Linked DNA regions of Homo sapiens: region 1 is linked to region 2. Evidence: promoter capture Hi-C in 16 types of primary human blood cells and fetal thymus (Javierre and others, 2016). All regions are on one chromosome and are shown on one strand. The core of a region is centred on a gene start or on the middle of the fragment in contact, and the rest is flanking DNA. Distances in the headings are between cores, read along the strand shown.

The links. Contacts are between HindIII fragments. The CHiCAGO score rates a contact against its expected background, and 5 or more counts as called.
Region 1: a fragment that was not itself captured here is called in contact with the fragment with the promoter of RBM12B-AS1 in region 2 in 1 of 17 cell types (total CD8 T cells); the score reaches 6.0 in total CD8 T cells.

The regions. Positions count from the first base shown.
Region 1 is chr8:94,816,849-94,821,319 of GRCh38, forward strand. No RefSeq gene overlaps it. Among named protein-coding and RNA genes, the nearest start is that of INTS8, 4.2 kb to the right of the region's middle. The HindIII fragment of the contact is 7,350 bases long and covers 1-4,471 here.
Region 2 is chr8:93,738,580-93,743,157 of GRCh38, forward strand. RBM12B-AS1 (RBM12B antisense RNA 1) reads left to right here and starts at 1,532. Exons shown (of 1, transcript NR_027259.1): 1 at 1,532-2,240. RBM12B (RNA binding motif protein 12B) reads right to left here and starts at 2,430. Exons shown (of 4, transcript NM_001377960.1): 1 at 2,302-2,430; 2 at 2,050-2,117. RBM12B-DT (RBM12B divergent transcript) reads left to right here and starts at 2,504. Exons shown (of 2, transcript NR_183450.1): 1 at 2,504-2,880. RefSeq lists an enhancer at 2,337-2,456. The HindIII fragment of the contact is 1,858 bases long and covers 627-2,484 here.

The sequences.
Region 1 (4,471 bases), core at 188-2,687, 1.1 Mb after region 2:
ACATAGCAAGACCCTATCTCTGCAAAAAAATAAATAAATTAGCTGGGCATGGTGGTATTCATCTGTGGTCCCAGCTACTCAGGAGGCTGAGGCAGAAGGATCACTTGAACCCAGGATGTCAAGGAGGCAGTGAGCTAAATGCCACTGCACTCCAGCCTGGGCAACAGAGAGATACCATCACAAAACAAACAAACAAAAACCAGAACGGGGTGCGGTGGCTCACGTCTGTAATCCCAGCACTTTGGGAGGCTGAGGCGGGTAGATCACCTGAGGTCAGGAGTTCGAGACCAGCCCGGTCGACATAGTGTAACCTGTCTCTACTAAAAATACAAAAATTAGCCAGGCATGGTGGCGTGCCTGTAATCCCAGCTACTCTGGAGGCTGAGGTAGGAGAATCACTTGAACCTGGGAGGTGGAGGTTGCAGCGAGCCAAGAGCGCACCATTGCACTCCAGCCTGGGCAACAGAGCAAGACTCTGTCTCAAAAAAAAAAAATACAGATAAAGTTGAAGTACCTGTGACCCCCCTCCCCCACTCCTTCCCCCCATTCACCTCTCCTCTCCCCTTCTCTAACCCACCCCTGTTCTATCCTCCTTCCCTCTTCTCTTCAGAGCCAAACACAGTAGGATTTTGATGTGCATGCCTCAATAAAATAGTTTCTCAGATTTTTTAGTCTCAGGGCCCTGTTAGACCAAAAAATTATTAAGCACTTAAAAGAGTGTTTGTTTATATTTACCATATTAAAAATTAACACTGAGAAGTTTTAAAAATATTTAATTTATTTAAATTAAAATAAAATAATCATATAAAAATAAAAATAATCCTATTACATGCTGACAAATACAATTTTATATAAAATAACTATTTTCATTTTAAAAACTAGAAGAGTGGCATTGCTCACATAGATGAGTAGTTAAAAAAAGAAGTATTTTATATCTTTTCGGATAATTATGGACTTTCTTCACCAAAACCTGAGAAAGTGGTTGTTTCTTAAAGATTAGCTGCAATTTTAAATCTGAAATCATACCAATTAACTTTTCAAATTCCGTTCCATTACAATTCATCAGTCTGTCTTGAAATTTTTTGTTTTGTTTTGTTTTGAGATGGAGTCTTGCTCTGTCGCCCAGGCTGGAGTACAGTGATGCGATTTCTGCTCACTGCAACCTCTGCCTCCCGGGTTCAAGCTATTCTCCTGCTTCAGACTCCTGAGTAGCTAGGATTACAGGCACCTGCCACCATGCCAGCTAATTTTTGTATTTTTAATAGAGACAGGGTTTGATCACGTTGGCCAGGCTGGTCCAAACTCCTGACCTCGTCATCCTCCCACCTCGGCCTCCCAAAGTGCTGGGATTACAGGCATGAGCCACCGTGCCCAGCTGAAATTTTTTATTTATTTACTTTTAAGAGGCAGGGTCTCGCTCTGTCACCCAGACTGGAGTACAGTGGCATGATCATAGCTCGCTGCAGTCTCCAACTCCTGGTTTCAAGTGATCATCCTGCCCCTGCCTCCCAAAGTGTTGGGATTACAGGCATGAGCCACTGTGCTCGGCTTGTCTTGGAATTTAAATAAATCTTTTAGCCATATATTAGGAAAATATTGATTGATTTGTCAAGTTGTGATGATCATCTGAAAGTTGACACATTTAAATATACATTTGTTAATATCGCCATTGGTGTCATCAGAAAAGTCTTGTCAAGTATTGGGAAGCTGCCAAGTTTACAGTTTTCTAAAATTCTAATTTTACTTAAAAAGTTGAATGTTGGCCAGGAGCGGTGGCTCATGTCTGTAATCCCAGCACTTTGGGAGGCCAAGGTGGGAGGATCACTTGAGGTCAGGAGTTCAAGACCAGTCTGGCCAACATGGTGAAACCCCATCTCTACTAAAAATAGAAAAATTAGCCAGGTGTGGTGGTGGCAGTGCCTGTAATCCCAGCTATTCGGGAGGCTGAGGCAGGAGAATCGCTTGAACCTGAGAGGTGGAGGTTGCAGTGAGCGGTGATAGCACCATTGCACTCCAGCCTGGGCAGCAAGAGCAAAACTCCATCTCAAAAAAAAAAAAAAAAAATTGAATGTTATTATTCGCCACAAATGGTGTTAGTTGTTTTCCATAAAGTGACATGACAGGCTCACTTTGTTCAAGAAAATGTCTGCTAAATACCCAAGTCTGAATGACCACAGTCTGTTCTCATTCTTTCTTTCTTTTCTTTTTTTTTTTTTTTTTGAGACAGGGTCTCACTCTGTCACCCACCTGAGTGCAGTGGTGCAATCTCGGCTCACTGTAGCCTCATCCTCTTGGGCTCAAGCAATCCTCCCACCTCAGTTTCCCACATAGCCAGGACTACAGACGCACACCACCATCCCAGCCTTATTTTTTATTTTGATTTTTTTGTAGAGACAGAAGTCTCACTATGCTGCCCAGATACGTCTTGAATTCCTGGACTCTCCACCTCAGCCTCCCAAAGTGCTGGGATTACAGGCGTGAGCCACTGCACTCGGCCAGTTTCTGTTGTTTTAAACCACAAAGTTTGTGGTAATTTGTTACAGCAGCCACTTGAAACAGATACAATGAGTATGTCACATTTTATTTGTCTATTCACCAGGTTATAGACCTTGGTTTCTACTTTTAGGCTACTGTAGATACTGCTGTTCTAAACATTCAAGTCTTTGTGTGGGTACATTTTCTCCTTTCTCTTGGATACATACCTAGAAGGGGAATTGCTGAGTCATCTGGTAAGCCTATTTTTAACATTTTTTTTTTTTTGAGACAGAGTTTCATTCTTGTCGCCTAAGCTGGAGTGCAATGGCGCGATCTCGGCTCACCGCAACCTCTGCCTCCCGGGTTCAAGCGATTCTCCTGCCTCAGCCTCCTGAGTAGCTGGGATTACAGGCATGTGCCACCAAGCCCAGCTAATTTTGTATTTTTTAGTAGAGATGGGGTTTCTCCATGTTGGTCAGGCTGGTCTCGAACTCCTGACCTCAGGTGATCCGCCCGCCTCGGCCTCCCAAAGTGCTGGGATTACAGGCGTGACCCACCGTGCCCGGCCTATTTTTAACATTTTGAGAAACTGCCAAACTGGTTTCAAAAGTGGCTGTAGCATTTTACATTTGACATGTATGGAGGTTCTAATTTCATATCATCACCAATACTTATTTTTGTCTTTTTGATCATAGCCATTTTAGTGGGTGTGAAGTGGTATTTCACACAGTTTTGTTTTGCTTTATTTATTTATGTATTTATTTGAGACAAAGTCTCGCTCTGTCACCCAGCCCAGAGTGCAGTGGCATAATCATAGCTCACTGCAGCCTGCTTCCCAGGCTCAAGCCATCCTCCCACCTCAGTCTCCCAGGGTAGCTGGGACCACAGGCATGTATCGCCATGCCTGGCTAATTTTTGTGTTTTTTGTAGAGATGGGGTCTCACGTTGTTGCCCAGGCTAGTGATTTGCGTTTCTTTTCTTTTCTTTCCTTTTTTTTTTTTTTTTTGAGACAGTCTCACTCTGTCACCCAGGCTGGAGTGCAGTGGCATGATCTCAGCTCATTGCAACCTCCACCTCCTGGGTTCAAGTGATTCTCTGTCTCAGCCTCCCGAGTAGCTGGGATTACAGACGCATCACCACCATGCCCGGCTAATTTTTGTATTTTTAGTAAAGACAGGGTTTCACCATCTTGGCCAGGCTGGTCTTGAACTCCTGACCTTGTGATCCACCCACCTCGGCCTCCTAAAGTGATGAAATCACAGGCGTGAGCCACCGCACCTGGCCGATGATTTGTGTTTCTTTAACGACTAATGATATTGAGCATTTTCATGTGCATATTGCCCATTTGTAATATCTTCTTTGGAGAATGATCAATTCAAATCCTTTTTTTTTTTTTTTTTTTTTTGTTTTGAGATGGAGTCTCGCTCTGTCGGAGTCTCGCTCTGTTGCCTAGGCTGGAGTGCAGTGGCACAATCTCAGCTTACTGCAACCTCTGCCTCGTGGGTTCAAGCAATTCTCCTGCCTCAGCCTCTCAAGTAGCTGGGATTACAGGTGCCCGCCACCATGCCAGGCTAATTTTTGTATTTTTAGTAGAGATGAGGTTTCACCATGTTGGCCAGGCTGGTCTTGAACTCCTGACCTCAGGTGATCCACCCACCTCGGCCTCCCAAAGTGCTGGGATTACAGGCGTGAGCCACCGTGCCTGGCCAATTCAAATCCTTTACTCACTGTGTTGTTGCTGGGTTGTAAGAGTTCTTTACATATTCTAGATGTAAGTCCCTTATCAGACACATGATTTGCAAATATTTTCTTCTAGTCTTTGGGTTGTCATTCCACTTTCCTGATGGTATCTTTCCAAGTGTATTATTTTTTAAATCAAAATTTTAAATATTTCTTTTGCCTCTGTTGTTTCTGAGAGCCGAAGACATAGCAAGTTGAAGAAGCCTTGGCTTTTTGACATTCTGGGACACCTTTCAAGAACACTGAACCCACACCA
Region 2 (4,578 bases), core at 282-2,781:
AGCCTCCCCAGTAGCTGGGACTACAGGTGTGCACCACCACACCCGGCTAATTTTTGTATTTTTTGTAGAGCCAGGGTTTCACCATGTTGCCCAGGCTGGTAGGGAACTCATGGGCTCAAGCAATCAGCTCACCTCAGCCTCCCACAGTGCTAGGATTTACAGGTATGAGCCACTGCGCCTGGAGTAATTTACATGTCTTTAATGTACAAATAAATGTTGCGTTAATCCAGAATCCAGTACTTACACTTAAGTACCACTGTTCCCCAAAGTGGGGGTCTGAAGATACATTCACTGAGGTCTGTTTTCCTTTAAAAAAGGGTACGTAGATTAACCAGAAGCTAAACTAGCAAAGACATCAAATTACTTCACACATTCTACATCTGAAAAATATTAATCAGGTTTGCTATTAAAGTATTTGCACAGTAACAAAAAAAGAAAAAAAGCCTATTTTCTTCAACAAACCAATATCCATACTAACACTTCAACAAAAACTACAAATGGCTTCTGGAATACTTACTTTATCCATATTAAAGTCCCAAGACTCCCTCCTATGCAAATTGGCTTAGCTACTCTTTTTAAGATATTTTAGAAAGCACCATAAGCTATACATATTCTTGTCTCTCCTAAGCTTTTAAAAAAATTTTAACGGGATTTACCCTGGGAACATAAATTCATCTACAAGAGAAATTAGAGACGTTTCAAGGAATAATTATATCTCAAATTCAAAAAAACTCTAGTAATTTATCCTACCTCACTTAAAAACTATCTTTTAACCAAGTAGTTTCATGAGCACAAATCTCATGAATTCCAATTCAAGCAGACTATTTAGAAAGTTTATTCTCATTTGCCACAGTTAAACAAAACTAATGCTTAAACTTCTCTACCCTTGAGACAGTAGGGTAATGTACCATTTATGCCTCTACAATAACACACCTTGGAGACCAACTGTAAGAGACCAGCTCTCAAAATGGGCACTTCTGTGGTTCCAACATGCTATATTTCCTTAAGCAAATTCTCCAGAAATTCAACTCTTAACACACTAAATTACACAAAAGCAAAACACGAAAATTACCCTCAAGTAGTCTGCAATTAAAATTTTGCGTTTTTCTAGTTATGAATGCAAAAAGTATTTTTGTGCCTTTGTGTTCATTTGAAGACAATAATCTGTTAAAATTTCTATGAAAAGAAGAGTGGGTCCCTAAAAGATCACTTAAGTCAGTGAAATTTAAAGCGCATTTTAAATAACTGCTATTTTTATCCAACGATTCATCCCACTTAATCACCATTATAACTAAACAATACGTAACGTGCCTCTTCTAATCAAGACTTAAGGGGATACAGAGAGGGAAACGGGAGGGAGACAGAATTTAAATAAGTAATATCTCATCAGATCCATTTGATTTTTAACTAGCGAAGAAAAAGTCATTTTCCAGATATGGTGAGGGAGAGAATTTTTTTTAACTCTGCGACTACTTCGTAAAGCCCAAGGTCATGATGTAGCATATTCACACTCTAAACGTGAGTTTCCCCTGCAGAAAATAATCTACACCAACCCATAATTATTCTTTACGATGATCCACCTTTTATAATGTAGATGTTTAAAATAAAAACCAAAGGAATGACCAATGAGAGCCACAGTCCCTAGGAAGAACTGTAAATGAAGACGAATCCACATGGCACAGGATTTCTCCCAACATCCTCAAACGGGAATCATCCGAAGGCATCGATTCTACAGCCCAAAGCCTTTGTCCACAACTCCCAGGGGTCAGAGCTTCCTTCTTTCGCGCCAGGCCAAAGTTGCTACGTGGGATCCGATGTTGTCGCCAGACTTTCAGCCAAAATCAGCCTTCAAATTAACCTGGACCGCCCAACCTCCGTGCCTTTCCGTTACGCCGTCTCAAGGGCAAACATTCCACCCTAACTCGCCAGAGGGTGAACTGCCCCCAGATCTAACTGAAAACACTTGCCCTTCTCAAGCCTAACGAGCTGGGCCTGCAGCGCTTTTCTGCCACCACTGACTACGATGACATAGCAAAGAAAAAAATATACCTATGAAATCCTTCGAGATCTTCACTCTCAAGATCCCTGGGAAGCGCACATACACCACCACATGGAAGCTGACGGGAAAGGAAGAGTCGGTGTTTTAGCAAGAAAAGAGGGTGCCCTAACGGCAGGAGCTACGCTAGATACTGGCGCGGCCGCCGGTCCCGCCTTTCCCCGTTCTTCCGGCTTGGTCGCCCAGCCCTCCCCACCCCCGGCGCCCCGAGGGGAACTGCTTCGCACTTGGCAATAAACACACACCACTGCTGCCGAGTCGGACACACAAGGCCGGAGGCTGAGGGAACTCTTCGTCGCAGCAGCCTCCCCAAAACAGGTAGACCCTCAGTGAGCCCAGAAGAAGATGGCGCCCACTGCCCCTCCGGTCCGGACAAACGGACGTACGGTTTATCTGCCCATGCGCTCTGCAGGCGCAACCCACCACCAAGCTTGCGCACGCGCGCTGCCGCTCACCCGTTTCCCCTCGCTAGAGGAGGGGAGGCGGAGCCCCGGGGTTGGCTGAGCTTCTGCGCATGCCCAGATTCTGCCCAGCCCAGGGACCTCGACTTTCAACGGGAGAAATTCAGAGACACATTCAGGGCTCAGCCGGTAGATGTGCTGAGAATCTTCGGTAGACAACTGTCGAAGTACGGCGGACAAACTTTAAAGATTTCCAGAAGTTAAGGAAAGAGATGCAAAAGCAGAGAAAAGGCGACTTGTCTTTTCAGTGTTGCATTACTGTGTGGCGTAAAACATCTTCTAAAAAGCTCCTGTGGCCGGGCACGGTGGCTCACGTCTGTAATCCCAGCACTTTGGGAGGCCGAAGCGGGCGAATCACTTGAGGTCAGTAGTTCGAGACCAGCCCGCCCAAAAAGCGAAACCCCCGTCTCTACTAAAAATACAAAAAAGTCAGCCTGGCATGGTGGCGGGCGCCTGTAATCCCAGCTACTCGGGAGGCTGAGGCAGGAGAATCGCTTGAACCCGAGAGATGGAGGCTGTAGTGAGCCGAGATCGCACCGCTGCACTCCAGCCAGGTCAAAAGAGTGAAACTCCATCTCAAAACAAAAATAAAAAAGCTCCTGTAGACCCTAGAATACCACAGAAAAGGTAATTTTACTGCCTTAGATGTTCGCCAAGTACAATCCCAACACCTGGGGGCTTAATAAATGCATGCTTAGTCGGTTTTATAGATATAAATAACCTTGTGAAGTGTCTTTATAAATTTGTTCCCATCTTCTGGATTTTTGAAACAAGAGAACAGATGAGCCAGTACTGAAATTTCAGTAATGGAAAAGCACTATTACAGGTGTACTCTGTGATGCCTGCTACGTAATAGCTGGTGAACAACCTTGTGTTTGGTTTTATCATTTGCAAATAACAAAGTTTCCCACCACGTTGTATAGCTACTTGATGTATTTGTGGATGGATTCAAAGCTCATTAAGCAGAAAGTACATTTTAAAAACATTGTTACAGATGACAGAAAAAGTGAGTTGTGGATCCCTTTCTCACTGCAAAATACCCATTCTTTAATGATATGATTATAAGAAAGAAGAGGTAGTTTAATAAGTAAATAAAAAGATAGTTAACACAAAATCAGAGCCATCTTTTACTCACTGGACAAATTATTTAGCCCCTCTGTGCCTCAGTTTCTTCATCTGTAAAATGGGGATACTCCTAGTACCTACCTCTTAGGGTTGTGGGAAACATTCAGTAAATATGTATGTCTCAGATATATGTAAATAAGTGAGACTATTATAAGTATTTGTGACTTGTTTGAAATGTCAAGGTGATCTATACAGAAGCAGAGGATGTCACTCTGAGGAGGTAGGCTCATTGACTAGATATCATTTACCTTGATAATCCATAGTTTGGTCCTGGCCTTGCAGTCTCAGGAACAGGACCTTAAAAGTTAACGTTTATTGGCCGGGCATGGTGACTCACGCATGTAATCCTAGCATTTTGGGAGGCCGAGGTGATCGAATCACCTGAGTGCAGGAGTTCGAGACCAGCCTGGCCAACATGGTGAAACCCTGTCTCTACTAAAATTACAAAAATTAGCTGGGTGTGGTGGCGGGCACCTATAATCCCAGCTACTCAGGAGGCGGAGGCAGAGGAATCACTTGAACCTGGGAGGAGGAGGTTGCAGTGAGCCGAGACCGTGCCACAGCACGCCAGCCTGGGCGACAAGAGCAAAGCTCCGTCTCAAAAAAAAAAAAAAAAAAGTTAACATTTATTGAGAATTTATTATGTGCCAGGACGTATACATTATCTCAATTTATTCTTACAACTACTTTTGGAGGTAGGTACTATTATTATTCGTATTTTACAGATAAGGGAAACTGAGGCATAGAGGATTACAAAAGCCAGGCAAAATTGAACGTTGCTTGTTTGCCTGCAGAAGCCATTACTCTGTATTGCACAGAAAGAGGACTCTGTCCTCGGAAGCGGACTCCTTTAAACAAGAATACAGAAGCAATGCTCTAAGAAATAGAACATGAGTTACCTAATCTCAAAAGGTGATTCTCAGTTAAGGCTCCCTG